Regions from separate parts of the Homo sapiens genome. Here all the other regions are linked to region 1. The links are contacts of gene promoters, found by promoter capture Hi-C in blood cells and fetal thymus (Javierre and others, 2016). All regions are on one chromosome and are shown on one strand. Each heading gives the region's core, a stretch centred on a gene start or on the middle of the fragment in contact. The rest is flanking DNA. Distances are from core to core; before and after follow the strand shown. Region 1 holds the start of MED12L (mediator complex subunit 12L). Region 2 has its middle 11 kb from the start of MINDY4B. Region 3 overlaps MINDY4B (MINDY family member 4B).

The links. The method cuts DNA at HindIII sites, captures the fragments that hold promoters and counts their contacts. A CHiCAGO score of 5 or more calls a contact.
Region 2: a contact is called between a fragment that was not itself captured here and the fragment with the promoter of MED12L in region 1, in 2 of 17 cell types (megakaryocytes and endothelial precursors). The highest score is 5.9, in megakaryocytes.
Region 3: a contact is called between a fragment that was not itself captured here and the fragment with the promoter of MED12L in region 1, in 1 of 17 cell types (megakaryocytes). The highest score is 7.7, in megakaryocytes.

Annotation. Positions count from the first base shown.
Region 1 is chr3:151,083,889-151,088,076 of GRCh38, reverse strand. It overlaps MED12L (mediator complex subunit 12L), which reads right to left and starts at 2,413. Exons shown (of 45, transcript NM_001393769.1): 1 at 2,141-2,413; 2 at 1,052-1,279. The coding sequence starts at 1,150. RefSeq lists silencers at 1,661-1,955, 2,392-2,761. The HindIII fragment of the contact is 3,991 bases long and covers 606-4,188 here.
Region 2 is chr3:150,914,492-150,918,710 of GRCh38, reverse strand. No RefSeq gene overlaps it. Among named protein-coding and RNA genes, the nearest start is that of MINDY4B, 11 kb to the right of the region's middle. The HindIII fragment of the contact is 711 bases long and covers 1,298-2,008 here.
Region 3 is chr3:150,897,918-150,900,994 of GRCh38, reverse strand. The region is part of intron 3 of MINDY4B (MINDY family member 4B); the gene reads left to right. Among named protein-coding and RNA genes, the nearest start is that of MINDY4B, 6.0 kb to the left of the region's middle. The HindIII fragment of the contact is 2,085 bases long and covers 506-2,590 here.

The DNA.
Region 1 (4,188 bases), core at 1,164-3,663:
CTGGTTTACAAGGCCCTTTCTGTGCTATCAGTGGGCCCACAAACTTTTAATGGAGGGTTTTTAGATTCTCAGAAAGGTAAGTTTTGAAATATGGTCAGTTCGTGTTTAGCTGAACAGAAGATGGGTGGACTGCAGCTGGCAAACTCAGAAAGCACTGCTGGGTAGCAGGTGATCAAAAAAAAAACAAAAAAAAGGCAAGTCCCTGGGCAAATGGTGTAGCCAAAGGTGATCATTATAACTAGAGACTTGTTACATAATTACTTGTTAACTCCTGACAAACAGATACACAGCTACAAAATGCCATGGTTACCCTAGCCATTGAAGCTAATGTAGCTGGTGCAAGAGTCAAGGTGTCTCCAATTAATCTCATTCAAAGAAATAAGCAATCCTGGGAACTATTCCCTCCCAAGGTAACTCGCCTGCTTTTACGTATACAAAACAGCCTCTAGCAATTAAGCCCATTGCCTCTAGAGACGAAAATCAGTGTTTCTCCTTAATTTTAATTTTTAAAGGGCAGAAGGGTTACAGAGGTATATTCAGAGAGCTAAATATTTATCACTTCGATAAAAACGACTTCCATTCCAAACTGGAAAATTTGAAAAGCTTCCCCCTCACCTTCGTCCCTGGCCAGCAAAAGCAAAACGCAAGACCTCAGTGTAGGATGCACTGCATTCCAACATTTTTCAAAAAGTTTACGACGATTTACCGAAGCGGCAAGAAGAAAAATAAAGCAGGCAGAAACGGGTGAGAGCGAGCAAGGTTTCGGCAGGGAAGAAGCCCGAGAAGCGCCCGGCGGCGCCGTGCAAGGCCCGGCAACGGGAAAGCGACCGGCACATGGAAAGCGAGCGCCCCAGTGGAGCGCGGGGACTGACAGCCGCTCGGTCTCCGCCGCCGGGGGGTCGCCCAGCACCCCCAGCCTGGCCCCCGCCTCTAATCCCCCTCCCCGACCTCTTCCACCGCAGCGCCGGCGATGCCCGCTGGGCCAACTTGGCCCCGGGTCAGTGCTGCAGAGCGCGGCCCCGGTTGCCGGGGAGGCCGCCGGCGCCCTTACCTCCTTCTGCTTGGGGTCCTGTGGGTAGACGTCGGGCGGCCCGAGCCGGGGGCGCTTCAGCGGTCTCTGCTCATAGCTGAGAAGCCCGAAGGCGGCCATGATCTCTCATGTTAACCGGCGAAATGAATGAGAGTTGGAGCTGGAGCAGCCGCCTCTGAGCACCAGGGAGCAGCACTTTGCAGACAGACTCCCTCTCTCCCCCTCCTCGCTCGCTCGCTCGCTGTGGCGCTGCAGGCAGGAGGAATAAAGCAGGTTGGATGCTGCCGCTGCCCGGCAGCAGACACGCACTGATGGGGACAGCCTTCGGCGGGTACTCGGCTGCGCTCGAGCCCCGGGACGCACCGCTCCGGTGGCGGCGGCGGAGGGACTAGAGGTCGGCCAGGGTCCTCCGCGGCGCCTGCCTCCTCTGCTCCCCCCTACCTTGTCTCCAGGGGGAGGAGCAGCTGATGGGAACGTGTGACTTTTTTCACCAATGGACCCAAACCCACCCCAGCTGGGCGCAGGATGGGGGTGGGGGTGGGGCACTGGAAAAAAAAAAAAAAAAACTTTTCTTGGCGCCTAGGCTGGTGGCTGAAGTGCTCGCCCAAGGCGAGGGTGGCCCTCCCCTCCCGGGAAGAAGCTGTGGAGCGGACCGCCCCCGCCTCTCTTCCCCGGCAGGGACCCTTCCCCCGCCGCCACGCGCCCCGCAGACCCCGCCACCTGGACACGGACCGGGCCAGTGCAGGCAGAGGCAGGTCTGGAGGGGGCGCGAGACGCAGGGATGCGGCCGGTGGGAAGCGGCCGGTGCCTCCTAGACGCCCGCCAGGTTCCAGTGGCGCATCCGCAGCTACGGTCCCCTCGGCGGCTCCGGGCAGGCGCCGAGGCGCGCTGCTGGCGGTCGCGGCGGCTGGAGGGGGCCGTGCTCACGGTGGCGTGGGGCCGACTTAACCCTTTACAGTCCCTCCAGGGGCTGGGGAAGGGGGTGAGGAGCGATGGCTGTGAGCGCCGACGGGGGCAGCCAGCCCGCAGGCGTCTCGGGCTCCTCCAGCCCGCCGCCTCCCCACGGCCCCAGCTCCTCTTCCCTTCCGCCCCCAACCCCCAACACTTTACCTGTTGGTCCGCGGCTAGCGGGCTGGGGCTGGCGGCGGCGGGGTCACTCCGGCCGCCGCAGCCTCCATCATTCGGGTTGGGATGGGGGACTTGGATTTGATTTTATTTGTGCGGTATCTGCCTCGCCCGGACGAGCTCCGGGAACGCCGCGAAGTTTGCCACTGTCTGGGGGCGGCGAGCGACGCCGGCTCGCCGCCGGCGTTCTCGCCCCCACGGCCCGGGAGCGCGAGCTTCCGAGTTGGCGGACGGCGGCGCGGCGTCCGCACTGAGCATGCCCAGCTCGGCGGCCGGACCGCGGAGGAGTTGGCTGAGAGCGCGGTGAGCGCGCTCCAATCCGCCTCTCCGGGTTTTCGCAGCCGCAGAGCGCGCAGCCCGCGGGCCCCGGCGCCGAGGCTGGCCCTGGGGTGAACCTGGGCGAGGGAGGGAGCGCCCTCTGGAGCCCTGCTCCAAGCCCCCCGCTGCACCCTCCGCCTCGACCTCCCCAGAGGTCGCGGTCCCCGTGGCCTGGGCCGAAAACCTCACCTGCGCCGGGAGCGTGGAAGGGGCGGGGGGGGTGATCCTCCAGGGCAGACCTTGGTCATCCAACCCGCCCTCGCTCCTCGCTTCGGGGCGCGGGCACCAAGATGCTGGGCCACCTGGCGCGAGCTCTGCGAGACCGGAGCCGCGGAGGCGGGCTCGGCCTGTCCTGAGGGACCCCGCGGGAGGCGTGCCCGGGAGAATGCGCCCGCACTTGGCCAAGAATGATGGCTGCCATTTATGGAGCCTTCGCTACGTGCCAGGATCTTGATAGTCAGAATCTCTGGTCCTTACAACCTTCCACGGTCTTACTGTACCCTTTTTATGGATGGAGAAATTGAGCCAGCTCAGAGAGGACCACTCACTTGCCGAAAGCCACGAAACGAGTCGGAATTTGAACCCACGACTGATTCTAAGTTTCTGACCTGTTTTCCCTGACTTGGACTTGGAGGGACTGGGTTCCTAACCTGTCCTTGCCTGATGGACTCACGTTCTCCACGGCTTGAGGCATTCTCGGCCTTCCCTCTCTGTAAGGTGGTAAAGGCAGATTCTAACCGGAAGCCTTTGATACATAGTAGGTGCTCTGGAAATGCTGGTTGAATCTGAACATCAACTTTGATGTTCGTTGACATTTAAGCAAAGGGGGAAGAAGGAGATAAATAAAGTGAAGGTAATGTGGTAGAGGCTAGTTCCTCACTCCTGATCCTGACCTGTGAGCACCTCCAAACCCAGTTTGAGGCTGAGTCAGGTGTTTAGCTTTTGGCTTCCTTAATCTGAACAATTACTTCTAGAGAGCATTTACCTAACTTCACTGGAGGGCATTTCCTGACCACCTTCCCCATCTTGCCCCAGGGTCTTCTCTTCCACTAATATCCTGGGATTAATTTCATGGCTGGACTTGCCCTTGTGATACAGGCATCTATCAAATGTAGCTCCCTTGTTTGAAAGAAAGGACAGTTTTTTGTTGTTGTTGTTTTCTTTGTTTGGTTGGTTGGTTGTTTTTTGAGACAGAGCCTCGCTCTGTCGCCCAGGCTGGAGTGCAGTGGCGAGATCTCGGCTCACTGCAAGCTCCGCCTCCTGGGTTCACGCCATTCTCCTGCCTCAGCCTCCCGCGTAGCTGGGGCTACAGGCGCCCGCCACCACGCCCGGCTAATTTTTTTTGTATTTCTTTTTTTTAGTAGAGACGGGGTTTCACAGTGTTAGCTAGGATGGTCTCGATCTCCTGACCTCGCAATCCGCCCACCTCGGCCTCCCAAAGTGCTGGGATTACAGGCGTGAGCCACCGCGCCCGGCCGAAAGGGTTTTTTTTATTATCTAACTTTATTAGGGAAATTATTAAACATACAAAAAGCTGAAGAAATCATATAAGGAGCCCTCAAATATTCATCTCTCAGCTATAAAAATTAAAGTTACTATTTTTGTTTCATCTTTCTCCCCCATTCCCAACTCACTGACATACACTAGTAAGGACAGTTTTACTCATTGTTGCAACTCAGAAACACTGTATGGGACCTGACACATGGTGAGCATTC
Region 2 (4,219 bases), core at 404-2,903, 170 kb after region 1:
GGTGCAGCGCATCGTAGGAGCATTTATTTCCGCTGTGCTGTGGTGAGCAGAGGGGTCCAGGGCCCACCATAACCAGTTGGGCATTTGCAACTCCATTTTGTACATTGTTCCACCATGCAGACCAAGGAGACAAGAAGATGAGCAGTCAGTATTTTAAGCCTCACTACGCCCTACTCATTGTCAAGCTTTCTTTCTCCCTTTTCTCTTCTTTTATATTAGCATTACTTCCCTTTTTTTCTTTAAGCAGTAAAAGGTTTATATCATATTTTTAAAGTGGCTTGCTTGAGAAATTGGAAGTTTCTCTGTAGGGCACCTTGAGGGCTTTCCAAATCTGCTCCCTGCTCAGAAGTTCAAAGCTATATCTTCAGTACCTCATGAGTTGCAAATACTCTGGATTCTAAGTCAAATTAATTACTGTCTTCAGCTGAAGTATCATCCTGACACCTAGGGAGGACTGTGTTGATTTAGCAAGCTGATAGAGCAGAGGAAGGCACAGGCAATGCTGATTTAAATCTATCCAACCGTGGAGAGGTGCTCGGTGTTCTGACGGAGGCTAACTCTGCAGCAGCAGCACAGAGGATGCAAGCACAGATCCTGGTAAGGGGGGCCTTCTGCATGTTGGAGTTTATCCAGCAGCTCACGAAGGGAAATGACATAGTCCGATTTGCATTACAGAACAACATGCTGGGGCCTGTCGACGAGGGACAGGAACAGAACCTAGTCAACCAATGAGAACATTTTACAGAAAGTCACCCAAAAGATTATGAGAGTCAGACTCAGACAGTAGATGGATGCAGAAATGTGTATCATGCAAACGTGTAGTCGAGATTTGATGATGGACCAAACGTAAAGAGTGAGGAAGAGACTCTCTATTTGAAGTCGAGCTCTGTTCTGAATTGAAGTCTCTCCTACTGCAGTAGCTCAAATATTAAGTTGATGAAAAAGTAATTGTGTTTTTTGCCATTACATTTAATGCCAAAATCCGCAATTACTTTTGCAGCAACCTAATAAAATCTGTCTTGCTGTTTTTAATGAGTGTTCAATGAAAAAAAAATTTCTATTATGCACAGACAAGCCACCCAAATGTTACAAGTGGATGAGGGGTGAGAATACCGAAGGTAGAAGTGAAGCCTCAAAAGTGGGACCCAAAGTTCAGTGAGGCAATCGGAGATTTCATGCAAGAGTTCAAAATGCTTGGGTGGTGCCTCAAAGGGCTAGAAGCAATAGCCAGTTGAATGAGGTAGAGTAGGGTCAAGGAGCCAGGTCTTCTGCCTTCAAACCCAGTGTAAGCTAAGCTTGCTTGATACTGCATTGTGATGTGGCTACTTACATTTGTGAGGATGCCCCTATGTGGACAAGCACACAAGCAAACTAAGTAGCCCCCTGCATCACACGATGTTAAGCAGAGGTGTGAGGGGTTGAAAGCTCTTCACTTTCTTCAGAAAATCCACTTCCTCCTCTCTTTCCCAATGTATACAATTTCTTTATCAGGGAAAAATATATTTTATTATGTAATGGAATTAAGGCTACACAGTCACTCTAGGAGAGGTAGAGATCTACAAATTCTCATTTTTTTTTTACAGTGTCAATGACTGCTGTTGGAATCTTTTTGAATGACTAATTTTGATTGGAGAAAGAGAATGGAAATGAGGAAGAAACCACAATTTACCTTTCACCCTGAGGGGGTGAAAAGGGCACAGATTTATAAGACTAAAGCACCAAATATTAAACTTTGTCAATTTTGCCAATAATAAAATTGCTTACTTAAGGCTCTTGTAAGAAAGAGAAATTACTCTTAACAAATTTAAGCAAAGAAATGAATGTACTGAAGGAATAAGGTATTTCTCAGAGTAGGAGGACTTTTGACCTCCAGGTGTCAGGAAGGAAGACTCTAGTACCCCAGGTATGTCGGTGGTCTCTCTACAGACCTCAGCCACTAGTAGGACTCTGTCATCGTTATATGACCCTTGAGTCAAAATGCTATATCCCCAAAAGAAATAATCAAGCTTGTTAGGGATAAGATTCCATGCCTGAACCAATGAGCTGTGGTCAAGGTTGGGGTCCTGTGCAGATTCCTGGGGCTCCCTCTGTGAGAAAGGAGCTGGTCAGATTGGGGAAAAGTACACAGCACGCTGGAGCACTCTCCCTGCCCTATTTCTCAGCCATGTGGCTCTTCACCCTTTGAAACCCCAAGTCTCCATGACTCTCTTTGAATCCTCACAATGATCACATAAGGTAGGCTAAGCAGGGACTCTGCTTTGATGCAATGATGCCTTCTTTAGAGGGAGGAAGATGAGGCTTACAAAGGTTAGTCAACTTACCCAAGGTCACAGGTAGACTAAATAAGGGAGGCAGGACTTATCCACATCTCCTGGGCTGCAAAACCAGTTATGTGAATGTGGATATGGGGGACAAGTGACTGAACCAGTAGAAATACATGAGCAATAGGTGAGGGGGCATCCATATCAGAACCACCAGGACTGAATGAATATGCTTACTTGGGCCCCCCAACCAAGCTGTTGACAAGAAGGCAGGGAGAAGGGGAGGAAGGACAAGAATACAGATGGAAGAAAGGGAAAGGCAAGAAATAGGCTCAGATCAAGAGGAAGGTTTCTCGAGTGCGCACGTAAGCACATCTGTCAGGCATCCAAGGCAGAGGCTATTCATGGCCCCCCACCAGTTATCTTCCCTTTCCTATGCAGTAATAGTATTCTCAGTAGAATGGATGGCTGTCCAACCTAAGGCTACATTTCCAACCTCCCTTGCAACCAGAAGCCACATGATTCTGGCCTAAGGGATATGAGCAAAAGTAACATGTACGAATTCGGTGTCACGCCCTTATAGGTCACGTCTTTTCTCCCTTTCCCCTTTCTACATTCTGGAATGCAGAGTTAATGGCAGGAAACAAAGCAGCCACATTGGACCATGAGATGCAAGCCAAGTATGAGGATGGCAGGGCCACAGAATGTAAGGAGCCTGGATGCCTCATAATTGAGAAACCATCACACCAATCCTGTCAACCCAGACTTACTTTCAAGTCTAAGAAATAATTTCATAGCAGTCATAGTAAAGAAATAACAAAATGCCATATATCATGCATGGTGTCATAGTAAACACCCCATAATTGCTAAATGCTTTCATGATTAATATACTGGCTAAAAATACAAAATAAAAAGTAGGTATAATTGGCCGAGCGTGCTGGCTCACACCTGTAATCCCAGCACTTTGGGAGGCCAAGGCGGGCGAATCACGAGGTCAAGAGATAGAGACCATCCTGGCCAACACGGTGAAACCCCGTCTCTACTAAAAATACAAACATTAGCCGGGCATGGTGGCATGCACCCGTAGTCCCAGCTACTCAGGAGGCTGAGGCAGGAGAATCACTTAAACCCAGGAGGTGGACGTTGCAGTGAGCCAAGATCGCACCACTGCACTCCAGCCTGGGCGACAGAGTGAGACTCCATCTCAAAAAAAAAAAAAGTAGATATAATTGATTAGGGAATAAGAATTTATCTGCTCTTTATTTATATATGTAAAAATTATAAATGACTATATACCGATAATAAAATTAATAATGTGTATTCAGTCAATTAAAATTTTTAAATGCTTGAAACTTTTGACACAACTGTTCCTCTTCAGGAAATTTTTTCTTATAGGGAAACTTGTTCCCAGGTATTTTATAAACCCAGCTATGATGACTGTAATGATACATTTTTGGCACTCGCGTGAGCTTTTTCATGGACTAAATTTCTTTAAAGTATAAATTTTTAATCACCGGTTATGAACATTAAATATTTTAAACTTTTTGTTATGGAAAATTTCAAATATATACACGATTATTGAAAGTAGTATAATGAATCTTAGGTACCCATTACATGTATTCAACTACCAACTCCTGGACAATTTTTCCAACCCTCCCCACCTGGATTATCATGAGGCAAATCTCAGACATCATATCATTTCATCCATAAAATCGCAGTATGTCTCCCAGGACTGTCTTTTGAAAACAAGATCACAAAACCATTACCACACCTAAAAAATAAATAAATAATTCTTTATTATCAAAATGTAGTGTTTAAGCTTCCCCAATTATCTCATAATTTTTTTGGCAGGATCCAAATAAATTCCATACATTGCAATCAATTGATATGTCTTTTTTGGTGTATAAGTTACCAGGACTTTTGTTGGAAAGATAAATATGCTTCTAGCTTGTTTAGGT
Region 3 (3,077 bases), core at 299-2,798, 190 kb after region 1:
GAGACGTGGATGGCAGGGAGTCTTCACCACATACCTTTTTGTCTCTCTGGATTTTGAACCACATGAATATACTATTTTTTAAACACACACACAAATTTTAAAAATAGAAAAAGCATTCACAGACATTTGCAAAATCTTCTAGTCTTTCTCTGTACTGGGGAGGCGAGAAACTCTGAGTCTGAATATTCCCACTTATCTACAAACACAAACATGAAGCAACTGGGGACCGCCCCATGACTATGCCAAGGTAATGTTCTCCCTTTGGAAAAAGCTAGGAGACAAAAGATTTAGAAATGAAGTTGATAGGGTGTTAAGAAAGTCCCAGAAATAGAGATAATTGATTTTTCTTTAAAAAAAAATAAATTTGGATTTATTCCCATTATATGGGCCAGATGATCATGAGTCCTTTAAATAGCAGTAGCATTAATTAAACACATCCTGGGAATTCAGGATGACAAGCTTGGGATTCTAAATATGCTTGTTCTAGGGAGGCAGTTTGGAAGCTTGACCAATTCTAATCGATGTTTCAGCAGTGCAGCCACCTGGCAAATTGTCAGAGCTATTGAATCCTAATACCACTCCAGAAATCCTTTTGTTGTCATTCTGCTATTCTTTTCTCTTCTCTGTTTGGATTACGGATGCATGGCATTTCCTGACATTGGCACACACTGTCTCTTTGCTGGGAATCTTCTCTGAAAGTGGAGGTTGGGTAAAGCACCCTACGCACCTTTGCTTTCCTTAGCTCTCCTGTTTCTCACCTTTTGCTGTCCTCTTTCCAATACTACAGCTTTCTTCCTTCCTCCAGCCTGACATCTTTGAACATATGTGTTGGAACAAACTCTGGCCAAGGCTGCTGGCTCAGGTGAAATCGTGGGAAAGGTGAGCATCGCCTCCAGGCTATTCCACCAGCCCCACCTAATGACCTTCCTTCTCTCCAGTGGCAGTTTCCCACCTTCTCCCACTCCCAGGCCCTTTTCTGGACTCAGCCTTGAACACATTTCTGTAGCTGCAATATCATCCAGAAGAATCATAGTAAAAATGTAATACCAAGAGACCAAAATATTCTGGAGAGACTCAAATGAATGAAGCTCTGAAATGGGATAATAGGCAGGGTGTGCTTTTTGGAAGGAAGCACAGCCGGGTGTCCCCCCATAAGGTCTAGCTCATAGATGGGTCTCGACAGGTGTGAGTTAATGAATTCAGTGCCTCTGGATAATCCTCTAGCGCACCTCAGACTAGAGTAGGGGTGTCCTTTGTGTGCCCCTCCAGATGCATGGTCCACTCTTCTCCGACCTACCCTCTGCCCAGTAGAGAGGCTGACCTGTAGCAAGACTGACCTCCATCAGCAGGGTGCCCCCCTCCTCTGGCTTCCTGTTGAGTTTGAGCAATGGGGAGCCCTGAAAGGAAACTGAAGGGAGGGAAGGGAAGTGAAGTCAGGTTGCTCGTGGCTAGCTGAGTCCCTCTCCTCTCATGGCAGTCCTCTCCCCAGGACTCTCTCCTTTCTGGTTCAAGTCACCATTCCTTTGTGTGCTCCTTCAGGTCTAGGGGTCATAATGACTTCCCACTGTTGCTGGGACACTGCATTAGCCATTGTGGTGTCCCCACACCGAGCCCACATCTTTATAAATAGTCTCTGTCTTAAATGTTCCTCAAATTAATTATCTGACTTGAGAATGCCATCTGTTTCCTGCTGGGACGCTGGCTGGTACAAGTTGAAAGGCTTGCATTTGGGTCCTGGCACTGCCATTTACTATATACATGACCTTACATGTGCCATTTAGCTGACCTAGGCCTCTAGTCCTTTCACTGTAAAATGAAAGAGCCAAATTAGAACTTTAAAACTTCAACAGATACCTATTTTGAGCCTACTACATACCAGGCACTATGCCAGATGCTAAGAAATTGATGGCAAACATGATAGAACCAAGAGTCTACTACTCTGTTAGTTGGTCTAGGATAGAAATGTCTTCTTAGAACATCTTGGAATCTCTGATTCCATGATGGTCTAGTAATTCATAAGGCAAGAAGAGATTTAGGGAAGGAGCTTTAAAGAGGATTAGTCTACCTCAAGTTAGGGGTGGGCAGGTGGTCACAGGGAAGCTCTAAACCCGGGACAAAGTACAAGGCAGTCAGGGTAAGAACATTAACCCTGTTGGAAAGAATGATTCAGGGCCTCTATCTTTGAATGTGTGTATAAAATGTGTGTGTCTAAATGATGATCACCATCACTGTCATCATAGCAATCAAATGGAACAAAGTGCCAGGAAAGAAAGGAATTCTTCACAAATATAGAATACTAGCAAAGCACAAAGAGAAAAACTATAAACCATGCTTGATTATGTTAATAATAATCATGGCAGCCACTTATGAGGACCATTTACCATCTGTTTCTAGTTACTAGACAGCACAACAGCACATGTAATTATGTGTCAGGTTAATCTCATTATAAATAATATCTGATATTGGAAAGTAAATGTTACACAAGTAAGTTGGGTCATCTTTGTCACACTGGCCAACGGGGCCTGGCCAGAGAGAACTGCAGCCCCTCTGTTTTTAGACCTCCTCAGAGGGACAGCTGGAGAGAGAAGCTTCTAAGTTGGAGGTGGGAACTGGCAACAGAAATAAGAGTGTGGTTTGGCTTGCAGAACTTTTAAAATTGAATTTAAATTCTAAGCCTTCTTAGTCTCAACGGTCTTAATCTTCCACATTTATACACAGCTTTTCCTCTCTTATTGCTGCCAGTCTCTGGTCTTTTTCCATCTGTGTTGGGACTTTCTTCCATACGGCACAAGATGTTCCTGCATAGACAGGCTGTGTTTTCACAAAGGTAATAACACCCTACATTTACTTAGCACTTATGGTTCCCAAAGCCCTTTGCCATGCTTCTCTTTCAACAATAGCCAGGATGTGGACCAAGCAGGGGTTACCCCATTTCTGGATAAGTAAATTAAGTCTTAGAGAGGTTCAGTAATTTGTCCAAGTTCACATGGTTGGTAAGGAGCAGAACTGGGGCTTCTTTGCCCTTGAGTTGGGAGCAGTCTTTCTGTGCTGTGCAATCTCAATGTCAGGGAAACATT